Regions from separate parts of the Homo sapiens genome. Here regions 1 and 2 are each linked to region 3. The links are contacts of gene promoters, found by promoter capture Hi-C in blood cells and fetal thymus (Javierre and others, 2016). All regions are on one chromosome and are shown on one strand. Each heading gives the region's core, a stretch centred on a gene start or on the middle of the fragment in contact. The rest is flanking DNA. Distances are from core to core; before and after follow the strand shown. Region 1 overlaps FBXO33 (F-box protein 33). Region 2 overlaps LOC105370461 (a long non-coding RNA gene). Region 3 holds the start of DORIP1 (dopamine receptor interacting protein 1).

Evidence for each region. Contacts are between HindIII fragments. The CHiCAGO score rates a contact against its expected background, and 5 or more counts as called.
Region 1: a contact is called between a fragment that was not itself captured here and the fragment with the promoter of DORIP1 in region 3, in 10 of 17 cell types (naive CD8 T cells, non-activated CD4 T cells, activated CD4 T cells and 7 more). The highest score is 25.3, in naive CD8 T cells.
Region 2: a contact is called between a fragment that was not itself captured here and the fragment with the promoter of DORIP1 in region 3, in 13 of 17 cell types (total B cells, total CD4 T cells, naive CD4 T cells and 10 more). The highest score is 34.1, in total B cells.

What each region holds. Positions count from the first base shown.
Region 1 is chr14:39,404,394-39,409,354 of GRCh38, reverse strand. All of the region lies in intron 1 of FBXO33 (F-box protein 33), which reads left to right. Among named protein-coding and RNA genes, the nearest start is that of FBXO33, 26 kb to the left of the region's middle. The HindIII fragment of the contact is 6,248 bases long and covers 179-4,961 here.
Region 2 is chr14:39,450,215-39,454,668 of GRCh38, reverse strand. The region is part of intron 1 of LOC105370461 (a long non-coding RNA gene); the gene reads right to left. Among named protein-coding and RNA genes, the nearest start is that of FBXO33, 20 kb to the right of the region's middle. The HindIII fragment of the contact is 2,490 bases long and covers 407-2,896 here.
Region 3 is chr14:44,895,943-44,900,332 of GRCh38, reverse strand. DORIP1 (dopamine receptor interacting protein 1) reads right to left here and starts at 3,058. Exons shown (of 5, transcript NM_001017923.2): 1 at 2,765-3,058. It overlaps LOC101927418 (a long non-coding RNA gene), which reads left to right. Exons shown (of 3, transcript NR_110050.1): 2 at 1,020-1,103; 3 at 1,257-1,425. RefSeq lists silencers at 2,404-2,723, 2,744-2,873 and enhancers at 2,240-2,739, 3,364-3,413. The HindIII fragment of the contact is 3,873 bases long and covers 1-3,399 here.

The DNA.
Region 1 (4,961 bases), core at 2,053-4,552, 5.5 Mb after region 3:
TGGGGAAAGGATAGTCTCTTCAACAAATGGTGTTGTGTAAACTGAAAATCCACAGGCAAAAGAAGGAAATTGGATCCTATCGTAGACCATGGCCAGAAATCAAAGCAAAATAGATTTAAGACTTAAATATAAATTCTGAAACTGTAAAACTTCTCACAGAAAACATAGGGGGAAAGCTTCTTGGCATTGGTCTTGGTAATGACTTTGTGGTTTGACACCAAAAACAAAGGCAACAGAACCAAAAATAGGCAAGTGGGACATCGTAATAAAAGCTCTGTACAGAAAAGGAAACAATCAGCAAAATTAAAAAGCAAGCTGAAGAGGCCGAGGCAGGCAGATTCCTTGAGCCCAGGAGCTCGAGACCAGCCTGGACAACATGATAAAACCCCATCTGTACAAAAAAATACAAAAAGTAGCTGGGTGTGGTAGCATGCATGTGTAGTCCCAGCTGCTTGGGAGGCCCAGGTGGGAGGATCCATTGAGCCCAGGAGATCAAGGCTACAGTAAGCCATGATTACACCACTGCATTCCATGCTGGGAAACAGCAGGACCCTGTCTAAAAGAAAAAAAATGTGAGATAAAAGTAAGGAGGCTGAGGCAGGTAGATCACTTGAGGTCAGGAGTTCAAGACCAGCCTGGCCAACATGGTGAAACCTGTATCTACTGAAAAAAAAAAAAAATAGGCATGGTGGTGCACACTTGTAATCCCAGCTACTTGGGAGGCTGAGGCAGGAGAATTGCTTGAATCTGGGAGCCAGAGGTTGCAGTGAGCCGAGATGGTGCTATTGCACTCCAGCCTGGACCACAGAGTGAGACTCTGTGTCCAAAAAACAAAGAGAAATGGAAGTTAAATATTAGCAAACCATCTATCAAGGTAAAAGGTTAATATCCAAAATATGGTAACTCGTATAACTCAATAGCAAAATAACAAATTTAACCTAATTTTAAAACAAGCAAAAGACTAATAGACATTTCTCCAAAGAAGACATACAAATGGCCTCCAGGCATATGGCAAGATGCTGAGTTTCATTAATCATGGAAATGCAGATCAAAACCACAGTGAGATATCAACTCACATCTTAGCATGTCTATTATCAAAAATAAATTTAAGGTCAGGCATGGTGGCTCACGCCTGTAATTCCAACACTTTGGGAGGCTGAGATGGGCAGATTGGTTGAGTCCAGGAGTTCAAGACCAGCCTGGCCAACATGCTGAAACCCTGTCTCTACTAAAAAATACAAAAAAAGTTAGCCAGGCATGGTGGCGCACACCTGTAGTCCCAGCTGCTCAGGAGGCTGAGGTGAGAGAATCGCCTGAGCCTGGGAAGTTGAGGCTGCAGTGAGCCTAGATGGTGCCCTGCACTCCAGCCTTGGCAACGAGAGTGAGACCGTCTCTAAATAAATAGACATTTGTGAGGATGTAGAAAAATTGGAGCTTTTATACAACTGTTTGTGGGAATGTAAAATGGTGCAGCCACTATGGAAAGCAGTATGGAGATTCATCAAAAATAGCACTGCCGTATGATCCAATAATGGAATATTTCTGGATATGTATACAAAAAGAGTGTAATCAGGATCTCAAAGATATCTGCACACCCATGTTCACTGCACCATTATTCACATTAGCCAATATAAGGAAACAACCCAAATGTCCATCAAAAGATGCATAAAGAAAATGTGATATAGACATGCAATGGAATAATATTAAGCCTTTAAAAAAGAGAGAAATCCTACTATATTCAACAAACTGGATGAACCCACAGGACATTATGCTACATGAAATAAGCCAGTCACAGAAGGACAAATACTACATGACTCCACTTATGTGAGGTATCTAAAATAGTCAAACTCCCAGAAGCAGAGAATAAAATGGTGATTGCTGGGGCTGTAAGGAGGGAAAAATGGAAAACTGTTAATCAATGAGTATAAAATTTCTGTTCTGCAAGATGAAAAATTTCTAGAGATCTGTTGTAAAGCATAGTACCTATTAGGATTGTGTGAGTCTGTTGATCAATTTGGGGAGAATTGACATGTTAACAGTATTGAAACTTCCAACCAACAGACATGGCATTCCATTTACTTAGATCTTGTTTGATTTATTTCAACAATGTTTTGTAGTTTTCAGTGTATAGGACTGATACTTCTGTTCAGTTTATTCCTAAATATCTTGTATTTTTGATACTACTGTAAAAAGTTGTTTTTTAAATTTTAATTTCCAAATGTTCATTGCTAGCATGTAGAAATACAATTGATTTTTATATATTGACCTTGTATCCTGTGACCTTACTAAACTTGCTAACTTTACTGAACTCATAGTTATAGTAGCTTTTTTTAGATTCCTTAGAATTTTTGTGTAAATGATCATGTAATTGGCAAATAAGGACACTTCTGCTTCTTTCTTTCCAATCCATATTCTTTTTATGGATGAATAGTTTTATGGAGTATAGTTTTAATAGCTGATTTAAGTTCTTTCCCTAAATCCTTCATCTGCCATTTCTGAGTATATTTCTGTTGATGGATTTTTCTCCTAGTTGTGAGCCGTGTTACCTTACCACTGTGTGGACTCTACTGCTTTCCAGCGGTTCTCTCTTCAGACTTGTAGTTTTGCCCAACACATGTACAAATCATTACTCAGCCAAAAACCTGGGTAATATGAAGTCTTTGCAAATCTGTGAAGCTCTTTCTGTACAGTTTGTCTCTGGTACTCTGCCCTAAAATTCTAGACTGCAAACTCCCCAAAATCTCTTGTCTCCTCGATTCAGGGAGACTACCAGGCTATGTTGTAACCTGAAAACTCTCTCCAGACCATAATCGGAGGCAATTTATAATACACACCTCATTTTTTCCCCATCTTTCAGGATCACAGTCCTATATTGCTTATTGTCCAATGTCTGAAAACAATTATTTTGTTTTCTCTAGTTTTATAGTTGTTTACAGAGGGAAGGCCGTTGTCCTTAGTGTTTCTTTGTAGAAGAAGTAAAAGTCTCTTACATGTGTATTTTAATACCACCAAATAAATGAAAGTTGAGTTGAAAGGAGAAAAATACTGAGACTGTATGACTGTCCCCTCTGAGTATTATTAGAAATTGTGTGACATATTTTTTCTACTTTATATAATACCTTATATTCTCCAAAGCCAAATATCCATTCTTTTAGAAGCCTTTAATTTTTTTTATTTTTCTTTTTAAGAAAACTTATGGAAAACAAATTAACGTCTTTATAATTTATGGATATGGTAGCAACTTTAGAATAAAGAAAGGATAAAAACCTTAAAAGCAGACATACTTATATATGTTAGTAATGTATTCTTTGGAGTCTAATATGGAAGCCATTCTCACAAGAACAGTTTTATATCCTTTCTGTAACAGAAAAAAATACGGTTTTTTTGTTCGATGTCTCCTTGAAATGTTTTTTAAAATACAGTTTAGAATCACATGTCAAGTTGATTAGATTTACCAGAGTGACTAAAACTTTTTAAAGGTCAAGAAAAATTAGATTATTTCCATTAGTAATTCCTGTGATGTTTTCCTTGACATGTTCTACATTGGCTGTTTTATAACCTTTTCCTATTTACTACTTGGATTCTTCATATTTTTCTTATGTGGGGTGATTTTATATATGAATTTTTTAAAATGTAGCATTTGTTACACATTTTTCTCACAATGTTGGTTTGCCCTTTTTAGTGAGGTATGCTGTTGGATATCAAGTTTTTCATTTTTATATAGTCAAAAATGTATCACTTCCTAATTTATTGCTATTCTAAGATTAGGAAGACTTGACTATCTTAAAAGCACCTCAGGTTCAACATGTGCAAAATAGTGCTCATTGTTTACTTCACCACCATGCCTCCACACCCCCCCAAAAAATTCCCTGATTTTCATTTCTAATATTCCCTATCCCAGTAAGAAAGAAACTGTACCATGTTAACACAACCCAGAAAATTTAGGAGTTATTCTTGCCTACTGTCCCCTCACCCCCTATAGCTAATCCAGCACCTATTCCTGTCCATTTTACCTCTGATATGTAGCTTGAGGCTGTCCATTTTCTCTACATTGACCAACAAAACTCCAGTTCAAGGTGCCAGTATCTCTCATCTCTATTACTAAAATACTTTCTTAACTCATCTCCCCACTTTGGTTCTGGCATCCTTCCAGACTCTTCTAATGCCACAGTAACATTTTCTAGACAGAAATTTAATCATTTTATTCCTTTTTTTTTTTTTTTTTTGAGACAGAATCACACGCAATGGCGTGATCTCGGCTCACTGCAACCTCCCATCTCCCAGGTTCACGCGATTCTCCTGCCTTAGCCTCCCAAGTAGCTGGAATTACAGGAGCACACCACCACACCTGGCTAATTTTTTGTATTTTTATTAGACATGGGGTTTCACTATGTTGGCCGGACTGGTCTCGAACTCCTGACCTCGTGATCCACCCACCTCAGCCTCCCAAAGTGCTGGGATTACAGGTGTGAGCCACCGCGCCCAGCCTATTCTTTTCTTAAAATGATTGTTGAGCAGCTTACAAAATTTTTTCTTTGACATAGAACCCTGTCTACCTCTACGTCATCATTTCATGTTCACTTACTCTCTGTACTCCAGTCACTCTGGATTCTTTTCAGCTCGCTTTGATCTCTTCAAGTGCTGCAAATGCTTTTCCTTTTCCCTATAATGCTGTCTCCCTACCTTACTTCTCCTGGTTAACTTCCACTTATTCTTAAGATCCATTTAAAGCCGGGCACGGTGGCTCACGCCTGTAATCCCAGCACTTTGGGAGGCCAAGGCGGGTGGATCACGAGGTCAGGAGATCGACACCATCCTGGCTAACACGGTGAAACCCCATCTCTACTAAAAATACAAAAAATTAGCTGGGCATGGTGGCGGGCGCCTGTAGTCCCAGCTACTCGGGAGGCTGAGGCAGGAGAATGGCATGAACCCGGGAGGCGGAGCTTGCAGTGAACCGA
Region 2 (4,454 bases), core at 402-2,901, 5.4 Mb after region 3:
TAGAAGTGAAGTTTTTGTTTGACAGGGACACTTTTTAAATAGGATGGAGAACAACACTAAGATTATTACTCTGTAAAATAAACACTATTTTACTCTATAAAATAAACACAATTTTACGATTTTAAAGCCTTCCTTTGCTTAACAGATACAAAATGTAACCACATTCCCTGAGCCTAAAGGAGTCCTGATGGCAATAGAAGATGCTGTCAGTCCTTATAGCTCAAGTGGATAAGAACTATAGTGGAAGCTTCAAATAGAATCACTGGTGTAACAACAGTAGCCTTTCAGATAAGGATTTCAAGTGGATATGTATGGAGGACAGAAACAAAAAGAATGTCTCCCATAAACTGACAAGTGAAGAGCACTATTCCCAATACCAAAAACTGTTTATACCTGAAAACAAGCTTATATGAAATTTAAATAGAACTTGATGGCATGAAAAAATATTTTTAATTTGGATTCAGGCAGCTCTAGAAGGAGTTGATGGAGCTCTATTTCAATATTTCAACACTGACATGACTCAGTTATTTATCTGTGCTTTACTGGGTTTTGCTCTTATAAGCAACGGCCTATCTTGCTGTAACTTCTGTTTAAAAACAAACCAAAACTAGCCAGGCATGGTGGCTCATGCTTGTAATCCCAGCACTTTTGGGAGGCTGAGGCAGGTGGATCACTTGAGGGCAGGAGTTTGAAACCAGTTTAGCCAACATGGCAAAACCCCATCTCTACTAAAAATACAAAAATTAGCCAGGCATGGTGCCGCATACCTGTAATCCCAGCTACTCGGGAGGCTCAGGCAGGAGAATCGCTTGAACCTGGGAGGCAGAGGCTGCAGTGAGCCGAGATCACACCACTGCACTTCAGACTGGGTGACAGAGCAAGACTCTGTCTCAAAAACAAACAAACGAAAAAAAAAAACTAAACTAAAAGAAAGAATCTCAGAAAGGAGATTCAGCCAGGTGCAGTAGCTCACACCACTTTGGGAGGCCATGGCAAGAGGATCACTTGAGCCCAGGAGTTTGAGACCAGCCTGGGAAACATAGTGGGACACCATCTCTACAAAACAAAAACAAAAACAAAAAACAATAATAAAAAATCAGCCAGGGCCGGGCGTGGTGGCTCACATCTGTAATTCCAGCACTTTGGGAGGCCAAGGTGGGTGGATCACTAGCCTGGCCAACATGGTGAAACCTGGTCTCCACTAAAAATACAAAAAAATTAGCCAGGTGTGGTGGCAGGCACCTGTAATCCCAGCTACTTGGGAGGCTGAGGCAAGAGAATCGCTTGAACCCAGGAGGCGGAGGTTGTGGTGAATCGAGATCGTGCCATTGCACTCCAGCCTGTGCAACAAGAGTGAAACTTCATCTCAAAAAAAAAAAAATCAGCCAGGTGTGGTGGTGCACACATATATTCCCAGCTACTGAGAAGGCTGAGGCAGGAGGATCGCTTAAGCCCAGGAAGTCAAAGGTGCAGTGAGCCATGATGGCATTACTGCACTCCAGCCTGGGTGACAGAGTGAGACCCTGTCTCAAAAACAAGAAAAATAAAAAGAAATATCTAATTGACCAGCAAATGGCCACTTCTATGTAGGCAATGTCTTCATTGCATCTTCCGGTAGGCCACTGGCCTGGGTACAGTTAGAGTGAAAGAGCACTTGACCCAACAATCACCAATTAGCTATAAACAAGCTGGCAAAGTCACATGGCACTACACAGAGCCACCATATGCAAGGAACTGGCTAGAACTGCTTCCCTGGCAATGACTGTGGCCATAGCTAGTTTCACACAGATGGAGCAGCATCCTTTCTTTAGAAATCCAGGCACTAATATGCTTTGTTCTCAGCTCTGGGCCCTCAGCCCAAAATCACAGGGAATGGGAAAAGCTCTACTTCTCAACTTGCTACATTAGGCTACTTTGAAATTTACATTTTTTATTATTCATTTTAGTAGCTCGACTTAGGAGCCTTTTTTAAATGGTACTCTAGGTAAATTTTTGAATTATTTTTTATTTTTTTTGTATTTTTTCATTATTCATTTTTATATTTTTTATTATTCATTTTAGTAGTTCTACTTAGTAGCCTTTTTTAATGGAACACTTTAGGTAAAATTTTGAAGACAGTTGGACAACAGAAATCCTTATGTTCTTTTGATGTATACAGTAGTTTCTTTCAAAATTGTCCCCAGAGAAATTCCAATATACCCAAAAGGACTCACATTCTACTTCACAAAAAATAAAAAGTTCTCTATGCTATCCAAAAGGAAAAGAAAAAAACAAGATTTTTTTCTTTGTTTAAAATGTTTGAAGGTCTTCCAGCTACAAAAGTTAAGCGTTTGGACTAGTTCATTAGAATTTTGTGTTAACAACCTATCTCAGGCATGAACAAATAACATTTTCGCTACTGGCAAAAAGACAGGCAGAAAAATAAAGACAATTGTGTTTGGGTTGTGGTCTGGGTGGGTGAAGGTGAGGGAAAAATGAGAACACCGCACACTATGAAACTAGCCACCTGCTACAAAGCCCAGCAGTATCTATATTAAACTAAATATAATTTCATATTGGTGTCTCCAAATCTAATTCAGTACCACATGGTTCATTCTATCCTCTTGCTTTTCTGCAACCTTCTTCTCCAATAGTGAGAAACTTGGCTCCCATCAATCACCAAATGTATGGTAATACATTTACTTATTTGTCAGTTTCCAGTATACACGTACAGCAGTTTCAGAATTGCTAACCAATACCCCTGTGAGAAACAACTTTACCAGCTGCAGCATTTATGTACACTTTTGTCTTTAATCTTACAGTTTCTAGTTAAAACACTGTTTTCCAAAAATTATTCAGGTCAGCACCTTTTCCCCCATCCCTTTAGTGAAGTTATATCACATATCTGAAACAAGCTTGTTAGGTTCTTTTGTCACCATTGCATTCCCCTCCGGGATCCCTAACTCTTGGTTGATTGATTTTTTTACTTGCACATATTAAGCTCTTTATGCTATAAAGTTCTATCAGTTTTTTCAAATGCATAGTATATGTCCACCACTACAGTTTACTTTTAACTCTACAACTCCCCCATTCTTTCCCCCAAGTGAAAACTCCCCTTTCCTCAAATCCCTAGCAACCACTGATTGGTTTTCCAGTCTTAAATTTGGCCCTTTCTAGAATGCCATATGAATGGAATCATTCAATATGATGTAGCCTTTTCAGTCTGGCTTCAATAACTTGGGAAAATGCATTTAAGACGCATCCATGTTGTAGCATCAATTGCTTATCATTGAATAATAACCCATTGCATGGATGTACCACCGTTTATGCATTCACCTACTGAAGAACTTCTTGGTTGCTTCTAGTTTTTGATGATTATGAACAAAGCTGACAACTATGATTAAAGCACGTGTATGGATTTACATTTTCAAACCAATTTGGTAAATACCTAAAGGTGCTTTTGCTGGGTCATGTGGTAAGTCTGTGTTTAACTTTAATAAGACACTGCTAAACCATCTTCCAAAGTAGCAAGTATGAGATAACCAGCATTTAGTATTGTCAGGTTTTTTTTTTCTCTTAACCAATCTAACAGGTATGTCAGTAATATCTTGCTGTTTCAATTTCCTTAATGACAAATAATGTTGAGAATCTTTTTATAGATGGTTATTTGCCATCCATAAGTCTTTTTTGCCATCCATAAGTCTTTTTGAAGCAGTTGTTCAGATCATTTGTCCATTTTTTTACAAGTGGCTGTTTCCTTAATTTTTTTCTTATATTTTGGATATCCATTCTTTAAGAGATATGTGATTTGAAAATGTTTTCTCCCAGATATAACCTGTGTTTTCATTCTCTCAACAGAATCTTTTGTAGAGCAAAAGTCTTCAGTTTTGGTAAGTCCAATTAATCAATTTTTTCTTCCATGGATCATAAAAGGACTGTCTCCGAGAAGAGAGTGAGTTCTTACAACCAAGTGTGACAGAGAAGTCAGATAATTTTGAGAATATGATTAAAATAACTTATTCTTTTGTCAGTAAAAAAAAAAGCAATTCCAAATTCTGTGGGAGAGGGGAGATACAGAAGAAAGTCATCATCTAATTATCAATAAAATTAAAATGCTACATTTTTTTTAATTTTAGGGAGTGGAAGATAAGATACCCCATTTGACCTTGATACTAGAAACATTATTTTTAGGGTCACAACTTTGAACACAGAGACAAAGAAATGTAATCACAGTGTACTACTTGGTTCTGTATTGTATAATCATAACAAATTAATTAGTTAAATATCATGTATTGAACTTTTAGAATAAATTGAAAGCATGGAAGAGTTCACTATGATTACAGAATAATTATAACACTAATAGCAATCATTTATATAGTCCTTATTACGTATCGGGCCCTGTTTCAAATGTTTTACATAAATCTTCACAATAATCCTGTGAAATAAGAGTACATTATCCTCATTTTATAATTGAG
Region 3 (4,390 bases), core at 1,809-4,308:
AAATGTGGTTATTAGGCCTCCCAACATAGCAAAAAAATTTAAATGAGCCACTTTTCGCGCACTATGCATGCTCTCTGGAAAGACCATTTAAGAAGCTGCAGTCTTTTTTTGAGGTACAGATGGCCATTTGATAGGCTTTATATTAATTACATTGCAGATTTTATCTGTGACAGAGGGAAACCCTGTAATAAAAAAAATCCTGAGGCTGGGCACGGTGGCTCACACCTGTAATCCCAGTACTTTGGGAGGCTGAGGCGGGCGATCACCTGAGGTCGGGCGTTCGAGACCAGCCTGACCAACATGGAGAAACCCTCTCTCTATTAAAAATACAAAATTAGCTGGGCGTGGTGGCGCATGCCTGTAATCCCAGCTACTCGGGAGGCTGAGGCAGGAGAATCGCTTGAACCTGGGAGGCGGAGGTTGCGGTGAGCCGAGATCACGCCATCTCATTCCAGCCTGGGCAACGAGTGAAACTCCATCTCAAAAAAAAAAAAAAAAAAAAAAAAAATTCCTAAATGAAAATAAAGCTATTAAAAACATTAACTTTGGTTAGGCATATTCCTAATGTAAACCTCCTCATCTTTCCAAAATACAGGCTGTGCTTGCTTCATTTTCTTGTTAATATGGGTGATTCCACTTAAGAAACTAATATAATGGGATCCTTAATTGGGGGTACAGAATAATAGCCATTACATAATCTTTATATTAACTATACTACATATTTTATTTGTTGTAGAGAAAAACTATGTAAAAAAAAAAACTCCTGTTGCTATATAGACTAAGACTAATTCTGACATTTAGCTTTGAAAGACAGCATGAGGAGTAATCATGAAAATCAATCTTAAGTGAATAGTAGCATAGCTAATATTGCTAATCACTTTGGGATTTTTATTTGCAACTGAGAATTGTGCTATTGTGCAATTTAGATATACTATAATTTTTAACTACAGAGGCTATACTATGAAGATCTGATTCAGAACTTGATAAATATCCTGATTATTCCCTATGCATGTTTTCAGAATGAAGCAAAGCATCCTCCCTTTTCAAACTGGCACTCTTCCCCAACCTTGAGGACCACTAGGCACTTTGTTTTTAAAGCCACAGTAAGTATTTTAATAAATATGTTGTGTTATATGTATGTTATATAGCGCACATACTTTTGAAAGAATGAGTTCTTTTTACAATTGTATTGAAAAAACTCCTTCACTTTACTTGGGACAAGCAAATAAACTAACAACATCATATTGTTTTCCGAGGTTACTTTTATGGAGAAGTATTGTTATGAAAAAAGGGAGGCATCTGAGGAGTGGAAACAGAGAAATGAGTGACTGAGATCAGTGTCTTATTTTGACCATCTTTTCCAAGTGCTGCATCCTCCCAAACACAACATGAACTCAACACTTAATAAAGCTGCAGTCCTACGTGTTTTATTTGTGTAAGAAACTAAGTCCAAAACATTCTGCAACGCGAGTAAAAATTCACTTCTGCAATATATTAAACACACATGAACACAGTGTTTTCAGTTTGAAGCAAGATACTGTGGACTCTAAAATATCCAGTAACTATATTTAGTATGAAGAGTGGATGTTTATATCTAGTTGGCCAACACATTGATTCTAGTCATCCACTTAGGAAGAAGAGGGTGTGGCAAATCTGCAGCCTAGGAAAACACAAACTCAGTTTCTTCGTAATAGATACTGATTCGTTTTGTTTACAAAGATTTTAAAAAACAGTTATGCATTCAAATACTTTAAAAACGAAAATAACTTTATGGTTTGATTTATTTCCGTTGAATTTTAAAGAACTTTGTAGCAAGGTTTAAGATTGCTTAAAGAGCCTGAGTTCGGATTCCTAAAATAGTGCATTGGGAAGGAAGCATAAATCTCTAGGATATTTTCTTCACATTATCTTCAGACATGACCAAATGAAGTGTAACTACCCTTACACTCTAAGAGAATTAAACTATAATGACATATGTGGCATGAAACTTTAGTCTTTCTCTGGAAAAAACGGGAGGAGGGAAGGTTTGGAAGAACTAGAGGATACTAGTTTCATCATGAATTTGGTGATTTGTTCCAAAGTAAATTGCAATAAAAATGAGGGGTGGGGAAAAATGATGGAAAGATAGCTGTGAAGAGCTTTACTTAAAATTGTCTTAGCTGTTTAGCTAGGAACTGTAATTAGAAGGACTGGAGGATGTATTCCGCTGGCTTTATTCTCCAGGCTCTACGGGCCCTCCAATTTGAATAAACCTGGAAAACTCTCCTGACCTCTATTTCTTTGACAAAACATCTTTCTTTCGTGGTGACTTCCAAGGGAGGAAATTGGTACCCCAAGCTAGCCGTGAGGACCCCACCACATGCCCAAGGCATTGAACGCCAGACTCCCTAAGGACTCAGGGATTCTAAAAGTCCCCTCTCAAATCAGCGCCTAAAATACGCCTGTACAGCCACGCGCTACCGCTCCCAGCAGCGCGGGACTTCGGGACAGGGACAAGGCGGACGCTAGGCGTGCGCCCCCGGGGAGCCCCCACGTTCCGGCCACGCCCACCCTGGCCCTGGGCAGCCGCGCCCGGGAGGCCTGGCACCGAGGCGGGCGGGTCCCCGAGTTAGGGGCCCGCGAGTCGGCTGGGCGCCCCCGCCTCTGCCCGGGCAGTGCCCCGCCGAGTGCTCAGAACTGCGGACAAATAGGCTGGAGGGCCGGGCCGCGGAAGGCGTTCCCACACCGGCCAGTCTCCGTCCACCAGGAAGCAAACTCCTCGTACCTCCCTGGGGACCGAAAACTGCCGGTGCCGCCGCACCCGTCGCCGCCGCCGCCTGCTCATGGAGAGCCCGGGCTGCCGCCGCCGCCGCCGCCGCCGCTGCCTCATCTATGAGTACCGCCGGCTGTCTCGGCCTCCCCCGGCGTGAGTTCTGGGCTCTGGCATGGCCTCCATGGCAGCCGCCGCGGCGGGAGCCACAGCAGCTCCAGCGCCCAGGCCCAATCTCACTGGACCCACGGAGCCAGGACAGTGGGACACGTCGCTTCTTATTACGGAGGAAGATTCGGCACGACCTCCGCCCCCCTCCCCCCAACCCCCCCGTTTTCAGCCGCCTGACAGCGCAGCTGCGCAGGCGCGAAGACGCCCCAGCCTAATGTGCGTGTGTCGGCTGTGTATACAGCATCCAGATTCGCCCAATGGGAACCAGGATCAGGTGTGGGGGGCGGGACCTCGCAGAGAGGGGCGGGGTTCCACTGGTAGAAGGTGGGTGGGGAAGCCGGAAGTGGGCAGAGTTTGCACGGAGGCGGAGCTTTATTGGCAAACCTGATTGGCTTTTTGAGGTTTGTACCATTTTAGGACTTGATTTTAGTTTGCTTCTGGGTCTTGTTTTCTCAAATTCTTAACCTAGAAAGAAAGCTTTGTTTTCTCAGTAAATTACGGTTTTTTAAGCGTTTAAGTATTTACTTAGAAAACAGTTGAATTGATCTGTTAAATGCCAGCTTTAGTGTTCAAGTTAATTATTGGCCAATATACTGTAACTTACAGTGGAAGTTAACCCCATTTTGAAAAATTAGATTGTTTTAATTCCATTGTGAAGTTGAAAAAATTGGGTTTTGGAGATAATAAGGTCCCACACAGCAAGTGACGGAGCTGGAAATTACAGTTAGGACAACTTAATGCTAGTTTGTGGGCTCAACCACTATTTCTGTTTATTAGGGCCGAGTTTTTGTATCTCCCGTAAAGAAGCAAGGCCCTGTATGGCTCTGCATCTGGAGAACACAGGCCACCCTGCAAAAACTACCTCTCCTTGCAAGTAGGCATGGAGATCTGGTTGAGATTTTCCCCATCCAGCCTTTCAACAAATAATGAGGGTCTGGAAAGTTAGCTCTAACGTTCAGAACACGTGAGGGCTAATGAGAGAGCTCAAGGCTATCCTAGTAAATCAGTGTGGTTTTCCGTCACAGGCTGAGCCTGGGAGAGGCTGGATGCCTTCTTGACCGGTGTGATGGTCGGCCAAAGCTATGGAGGGGAACTTCCTCATGGATCTCTCTAAAAAAGTCTAGAAATGGAAGAGAGACTTCCATTTCTTGAGTTTTGGCTCTGCCCAAAAAAGAATAATTAATAGCTCTGGCAAAGCCTGCTCTTTTTAGTTTCCTGTTTTTTCTTATTTCTTATGGTATTTTATAGATGAGGAAACTGAGGCTCTTAGAGATAAACTAGTGTGTTGGAAAACTTGCAAAAAGTTCACTCTCAATATTAATCCTCTCCTACAGGTAGAAAAGCCCTTTAAAAATGTTTGTAAATGTGGATTATGTGTTTAATTATAAATCTCTCACAAGACATGGAGTTCATTTTATACTGATTAGGTCATTCTCTTCCTGAAAACAGCCATAGTATGGTGGATGACAC